Linked DNA regions of Homo sapiens: all the other regions are linked to region 1. Evidence: promoter capture Hi-C in human tissues and cell types (Jung and others, 2019). All regions are on one chromosome and are shown on one strand. The core of a region is centred on a gene start or on the middle of the fragment in contact, and the rest is flanking DNA. Distances in the headings are between cores, read along the strand shown. Region 1 holds the start of VCAN (versican). Region 2 has its middle 130 kb from the start of RPS23. Region 3 has its middle 180 kb from the start of RPS23.

The links. Contacts are between HindIII fragments. The study calls those that stand out against the background at their distance.
Region 2: a contact is called between a fragment that was not itself captured here and the fragment with the promoter of VCAN in region 1, in 1 of the 25 tissues and cell types used here (dorsolateral prefrontal cortex).
Region 3: a fragment that was not itself captured here is called in contact with the fragment with the promoter of VCAN in region 1 in 1 of the 25 tissues and cell types used here (lymphoblastoid cells).

What each region holds. Positions count from the first base shown.
Region 1 is chr5:83,470,465-83,473,003 of GRCh38, forward strand. It overlaps VCAN (versican), which reads left to right and starts at 1,280. Exons shown (of 15, transcript NM_004385.5): 1 at 1,280-1,559. RefSeq lists an enhancer at 1,709-2,539. The HindIII fragment of the contact is 7,638 bases long and covers 1-2,539 here.
Region 2 is chr5:82,403,043-82,405,581 of GRCh38, forward strand. No RefSeq gene overlaps it. Among named protein-coding and RNA genes, the nearest start is that of RPS23, 130 kb to the left of the region's middle. The HindIII fragment of the contact is 4,090 bases long and covers 1-2,539 here.
Region 3 is chr5:82,457,536-82,460,074 of GRCh38, forward strand. No RefSeq gene overlaps it. Among named protein-coding and RNA genes, the nearest start is that of RPS23, 180 kb to the left of the region's middle. The HindIII fragment of the contact is 8,215 bases long and covers 1-2,539 here.

The DNA.
Region 1 (2,539 bases), core at 30-2,529:
GTAGAGGCTTCAGAGAGAAGAGTTGTGAGGATACTTTCATATTTGTGTAGAAGGAAAAGTTTGCCATCCATTCTAGTATCCCTAGTGTTATACTGATGTGCACCTTGGATTTATTTTGTTCCTATTGTATAAACTCATACTTGACTTCAAAGAAAAGGAAAATCCAAAGTCCCTCTTTTCTAAGGGGACAGAAATCCTTTGTGTCAACTGTTTGACCCTTTTCTCTGTAAGGTCCTATTGGAAATCTTTTGTAACACAATGCAGGGGACTCTTCCATGTGTTGATGCTGTTTACACAGTGGGGTGGGCCTGACTGAAGAAAAAAAATCGCATATACGCATGAAAGATTATGGTCTTATTTCCGGAAAGCATGAAAGGTGATTGATACTTCCAAGAAGTCCCTGTTACTCAGGAAAATTATCAAATATTCTACTCAGAGATACTTGGAAAGACTGAAGGAAAGGAAGAACGAAGAAAGCAGAATCTAGACTTATGTGGGGAGAGATTTGTGGCAGAGGAAAAGTATTCTCTTTGAATCCGACAAGGGATTTGCCTGGGGGAATTTCCTGTCCAGCCTTTTATTACCAGGGTCTTTTGAAGCCGGGCTCCCCATTGGGCAGTTCCCTGGGAGTGCAGTGGGGAATTCTTACACTTTCCCTCTAGGTCCCCGAAGGATCTCGTTTTCTCAGTGTCTCTTTCAGGTTGGCAGGAGCCTTGAGCCTGACACTTCCCTTTGATGGGACAGGCAAGCTCTGTGGGCGCGTAAACACGCTGTAACCAAGTTCTTTGCTGATTTTACAGTTTTGTGTGCTCCCGAGAAGAAGTGATCGTACTCAATTGTCTATTGCTGGCCTGCCCCCTAAGAGCCTGGGGGCTCCTTTCCCCTAACCCAGAACTAGCTGCACGGGGGGCGGGGAAATGGGGGTGGGGAAGGAGTGGGAGGGCAGTGGTTTCCGCGAGCAGAGCGATGTTACTGAGTGAGTCCCTGAATGGGGAGCGCTGCTGTCCCCAAGCCGATTGGTACTTCTTGTCAGGAAGAAACGCCAAGAGGTGGGAGTGCCTGGGGAGGGAGGCAGGCGGTCCCTACCGCAGGCGCGGGGAGCTGCCTTTCCGCCCCTCCGCCTGCTTTCCAAGCCTGGACTCTTAGGAGTGGCTGAAGCTGCGGAGCGCTTTTGGAGCCTGTGAATGAACCCTCCTCCTCTCCCTCCTCCTTCTTCTCGCTGAGTCTCCTCCTCGGCTCTGACGGTACAGTGATATAATGATGATGGGTGTCACAACCCGCATTTGAACTTGCAGGCGAGCTGCCCCGAGCCTTTCTGGGGAAGAACTCCAGGCGTGCGGACGCAACAGCCGAGAACATTAGGTGTTGTGGACAGGAGCTGGGACCAAGATCTTCGGCCAGCCCCGCATCCTCCCGCATCTTCCAGCACCGTCCCGCACCCTCCGCATCCTTCCCCGGGCCACCACGCTTCCTATGTGACCCGCCTGGGCAACGCCGAACCCAGTCGCGCAGCGCTGCAGTGAATTTTCCCCCCAAACTGCAATAAGCCGCCTTCCAAGGTAATCACGTTTCTTTTGTTCCCCCCTTAAAAAACAAAAACAAAAAACTTATAGAAAAAAACCCGCGAGCTTAGAAAAAAGAAGCAATTGGTAGAAGGCTTTAATTAAGGCAAAGAGCTGTAAGGCGAAGTTAAGAAAATGTAGGCACTTAAAAAATGCAGGTAACTTTCATAAGGGCTTTTGGGGAGAGGCATACAGAGGGACCTTGGTGTTGAAAAAGATTCAGACAAAAGAAACCCAGGGTGGGGTGGGGGGTAAAATGACTAACGGAATTGGGGGAAGGGAGGGAATAAATTGTAAAGAAATCATAGAAAAGTGGTGGGTTCTTGAGCTGGAGAGAAGAGAGGGACCTTTGGCACTTTGATTTTTTTGTTGTTGTTGTTCTTAACACGCTCGAGGCAAAAGTTTGAATGGGGACTACCAAGACTTGCCACAGACAAGTCCCCGAAGCCGCCTTGGTGCAGGCCACCTGGTTTCCCAGCCCCTGGTGTGTGGTCAGTGCCTGGTGTTCCTGGAAAGCCACTCCCGGGCAGCTCCTGACAGTGCGACCCGGCGCCCAAGCAGCCTGGGACCTTGCGCGGACCTGACCCCTTCAGACCGCAGGCAGTCTGGGAGGAGGTCCGGCCGGGGGAGGTGCAGGATCCCCGCCGTGTCTCTTTGACGACTTGGGGACTGTCACGGTTCTCTCCCGGCGCCCCTGGGTTCTTTTGTCCTGCACGCGGTGCGAAGGGGCCAGCAGGGAAGGAGCAGAGGATGGGGGGTGGGGTTGTTGGAGCCCCGCGGAGGTCTGGGAGGCCCCTGGGCGGGAAAAGCCTGTTCTGAATCGGCAGGGATGTGCAACAATTTTTCTCACCCTGAAGAGTGAAATAGGGTCTGTCGCTCCCATCTCAACAAGCAAACCGGCACCCAGAGCGCACTGCAGACAAAGGTGGCTCGGGGACCCGAATCAGGGGCCTCTGGGTCAGTCCTCTCGCCCAGAC
Region 2 (2,539 bases), core at 29-2,528, 1.1 Mb before region 1:
TGACACCCTTTACAAATCTCCAGACATCATTAAATGTCCCCCAGTGGACAAAATCACCCAGAAAAAGAACCACTGGTGGAGGTGAGAAAGGAGTGAGAATATTCCATGCAGAGTGAATAGCATGTGCAAGGCCTCAAGATGGGAAGGAAGAAGACAGGCATTTTTGTGGAACTGAAGGAATGCTAGTGAATTACTGGTGAGACAGCTGTGATGTTGGGATGGTTTGTAGCCTCCTTGTAATGAAGACAGTTGTCCCTGGCCTATTTTAAAAATAGTTCAATCTCCTACTCTTATGCTGCATACTTAGTCTCTGCCCTTATCTTTCTGTTCCTTTTCTTTTCTTCCTTACTTCCGTATTCTTTCTTCCTTCGGGTTTTCTAGAGTCTACCAGACAACTTAGGTGACAAGAAGTATGCCGGGTCATGCTGAATCCATTCATTGAGTATTCAGGCAAATATTTTAGTAGCAGCCTTTTCCTCAATTGGTTTGTGATCTTATAATAAACTGAGCCCACTTTGAGTTAATTAAAATGAAAATAAAAGCATACTGATAAGCTGGGAAAAATCCCTGTAGGGAGAGGGAGGCATCTAAACCAGAGGTTATAACAAAAAGGAGGGGGCTGCCCTGTGCGTGTCAGGATGTTCGGCATCACTGGTGTCCACCCACTAGATGCCAGTGGAACCAGGGTATTTACATATTTTAACACAATAAAACAACTTGTTGATGTTGTTGAATGAGGAAAACAGCTATCTCCCCTTAACTTTCTGGCTGTAGTAAAGGAAACAGGCAGCACAGGCACTGTGGGAAGCATGTAAATTACATGTGGGAGTCGATACTAATCCCTAAGCCCTAGGAGGGACCAGGGTGGCCAGAGCTGTCAGGTGGTTGCCTTTGTTCGCAGTCTTGTCAGCTTATCCCAGGGTGCAGTATAAGTATAATCATTATCTCTATTGTCCATACTGTGAAAACATTAGAAAGCAATGCTAGGTAAGCAAACTTGCTAGAACATTATATAAAATAGTATATATTGGTCTTAAATGAATAGTCTTGGGCTCTTTCATTTCTAAAAGGTTTTGTGTTACAAGGCCACAATTTAGCAGCTCTTCTCAGATACAGTTATTCATATTTTAAGTATTTTATTCTAATATCATTCACATGGATGACAATTTAGTTGTCTGCTGTTGTTGCCAGAGCACTGCTTCTGGCATACTACCTTTGATGTGACCCATTGCTATTTGTTTATTAGAAACCACTTTGATACTCAGATGAATGGAATATTTCCTTTCATTGGAAAAATAATCAACTTTAACTTGCTTTTTCTTAAAGGGATGGGTTTTGAACCTCTGCCAGTTATTTTTGGTTGCTGTAATAAGTCTCAAAGACCATGAACCTCTCTGTTTAAAGACTGTTTAAAGTCTTCACCAAGACTTTAAGCTTCAAGAGGAAGCAGCCACTTTTCTTTTGTTCATGTAGCATCTCCATCGTCCAACAGACATACAATAGGCTCCCTGTAAAAAATGGGTTGAATTATAATGGTGCTTTGTCTGTTTGTGTTGGCGTAAAAAATACCTGAGGCTGGGCAATTTATAAAGAAAAGAGGTTTATTTTACTCATGGTTCTGCAGGCTGTACAAGAAGCATGGCACCAACATCTGTTTCTGATGAGGGCCTCAGGAAGCTTCCACTCATGGTGGAAGGCAAAGGGGAACCAACATGTGCAGAAGTCACATGATGAGAGTGGAGGCAAGAGACAGGGAAGGTGCTAGACTCGTTATAACAACCAGTCCTTGAGGAAACTCTTGTGAATACTAATAGAGTGAGAACTCACTTGGTGCCCCCAATCCCAAGGAGGGCATTAATTTCTTCATGAGGAATCCATCCTAAAGACCCAAACACCTCTCATCAGGCCCTGCCTCCAACATTGGGGATCAACATCCAAACCATAGCAAATAGTCATTAATTTAGGAAAGTGGAAGAACCTAAGTAAAGAGGACTCTAAAAAGGATAAACAGGGAGGTGAGAGGAATTACATTCTTTTACTGGATATAGGATATTGTCTTGGGCGATTTTTACTACCCCCTGAAAAGTTTGGCTGACTTCAGCTCATGTTTGGCTGACTCCAGCTTAGATGTGATAAGAATTTGGTTATAGTTTATGAAGACTAAATATACATTTGCTATTTTTAAATTGCTTATTTGTACTGAATAAGTGCCCTACCACATTGTGTGAATATGAAGTTCACAGGCTGGTATTCCATATCAGTCTATTCATACTTGGTTGGCTATGCATGTAAAACGATTAAGGGGGGGTGAGTCACCTCACAGTAAGAGAAGAAAACCTTCTTTACTGCTGTCAGCCTGAATTGTTAAGAATGACCTTCTAAAGGTGGAAATTGCCCTCTGTGGTATCAGGCAGGGTTGGCGGTGGGGACTGGCAGCCCCTTCCTCTTCTGCTCAACTTGAGTTTAATTTCTTAGCCAGTTTGTTTCTCTTCATGTTTCACTGCTTTCCCACCCTCCATCTCAAAACATGTTCGAGACA
Region 3 (2,539 bases), core at 29-2,528, 1.0 Mb before region 1:
TCCACTGTCTGACAAGCCCCAGTGAGAGGAACCCAGTACCTCAGTTGGAAATGCAGAAATCACCCATCTTCTGCGTCACTCACGCTGGGAGCTGTAGACTGGAGCTGTTCCTATTCAGCTATGTTGGAACCGCCACTCTCACATATTATTTTAAACATAATTTTAAATGAAGGTATAACTGACCACTGAGATTTTTCCAACGATGCTTATTTTTTTTAAAAAGATTCCCTTCTTATTGAACATTTAGTTTTTATACAGTATCCATCATTATTATTAATATTGTAATAAACTTCTTTGGCTATAAAGATGTTTCCATATTTTAAATTTTGGTCTTAATGAGGCTTCATAGATGTGAATTACTGGCTAGAACATAGAAAATTATAATCCAAGAAATGGCACTTGGAGAATGGAATGTGATTCATTCCTTTAAGTTTGCCCAACGTGAGGCTATGGTAAAAATTCTGAAGCCAGATCGCCTGTGTGCACATTTGGCACATGTGGCTCTACCCCTCCCTTGTGACCTGGATTAAGTTACTCATTTCTGTGAACCTCAGTTTCCTTATCTGTAAAACTTTTGTAAGTTGTCCTGAGGTTTAAATAAGCTAATATCTATAAAGTGCTTACAGTCATGTCTGGCACATAGTAAACAGTATATAATATTATTCAATGTTATTTTATTAATATAAAACTGAAGCTATAAACAAGAAGTTGAGCTGAGATTCTGGAAGCTTTGACCAAGCTGACAAAAAAAGTGGATTGGAGGCTTTTAATGTGCTTCAGCCACTTAAAAATAGCAAGATAGTGCATAAAGATCAACTCTGTGAGCTTTAATTCAAGAAGGAAAATGGGAATCCACCAGAATTGTAAAGGACACCCAGATCCTTGGGAATACTGGTAAACAGCCCTTGTGATGGCATCTGGCTGATAAAAGTGACTGAAACGCCAGCATGTGAGAGAGGCAGTGAGCCTCCCTCTGTGACTCACCTTTCCACTGGGGACCCAAGCAACCCAGGTAGAGGGAGGGCATCTTGTTTCTCCAAAGCCCTGGAGCTAATATGGTGAGTGCCTTGGAGATGCTGTGAGGGAAAGACGTAGGGAAAAGTTGCAGACACTAACCCCAGACCTGGGACTGACCGCAGGATGTCATTTTGAATTTAGGCATATACAAAGTCAGCCATTCTTTGGTGACCTAGCAGCATAGCTGCTTGGCATTTTAGTCTTGGGCCAGAGACTAGAGTGCCTTCTCTGGCAGGATAAGGGCCTTCATAGCCAGAACTGTGAAAAGCACCTCAGTAGTAGGCTGTGGGATGGTGCTCTCCTCCATCGCAGGCCAGGGATAGAAGGAGAGCTGCTATGGCTGAAGTTTCTCCTCGGTGATGAGATTTGCAGGCAGGGCCAGATTGGCAACCTGGAACCTGTCTGCATGTGCCATTGCTGGTTGTCCCAGTCTGCTCCCTTGAGATCGAGGTGCAGTGGGGCTCTCTCTGCTCCACCCCCAGGCAGAAATGTAGGCATTTGGAATGCTCAGTTGCCTGGAACAGCATGAGCCACCCCACCCTTCATGGACATAGACCCTAGTACAGTGAGGCACTCTCTGCTCCACACCCAGGCAGATCTCCAGGCATTCAGAGCACCTACTCATCTGGATCAGCAGCTTGGCCCACTCCACACTTCCTGTGCAAAGGTCCTAGTGCAGGGAGGCCCTCTCTGCTCCATGCCCATGTAGATCTCCAGGCATTTGGAGCGCCTGCTCTCTTCAATCAGCAGCCTGAACTGCCTCACCTTTCCTGTGCAGAGATCCTGGTGTAGGGCAGGGGGACCTTTCTGCTACATGCCCAGGCAGATCTCCAAGCATTCAGAGCACCTGCTTGCCTGGTTCAGGCTTGGGTCATCCCACACCTCCTGTGAAGAGATGTTGGTGCAGAGGGTCCCTCTCTGTTGCATGCCCAGGCAGATCTCTAAGCACTTGCAGTACCCACTGCCCTAGATTTTAGGAGTTTAGGCTGCTCCCATCCCCATGTAGAGATCTTGAGGCCAGTGGAGTTTCCCAGTTCCACGCCTAGGCACAGTACTGGGAGCTTGGTGGCTGGCACTGGATTCTCCCTTGGTGCTGGTGCTTGTGTCTGCCCTTTCTGGATCTGTAGGCGAACCTGTCTGGTTCTGCCCTACCTGTCATGGTCTCCGTTCCCCCAGGGCTGAGCAGGGAGCTCAGATCACTGTCTACTCCATGGATCAGCCCATTGCCTGAGACAACGAAGAGCTTCTGCCCGTAAACAAGGATCAATTATATACCCAGCTGCATTGGCCATAGTCCACTCTTAGCTGTAAGCACCATCTACTGGCTTGTAGGTCAGACTGCACAGCCCAATATAAAACCTGGCGAAAGAAGTGCACAGAGCTATAGAAGCAAAGCCAAAAGATCCTACACAGCATTCTCTACAGTTCCGCTCCCTACAGAGGGAGGGAAAGGGAAAAAAATATAGAGAAAGAAAAAAAGGAAAAGTCTTACCTGCATGAAAATGATTATGAAAATTAGAAG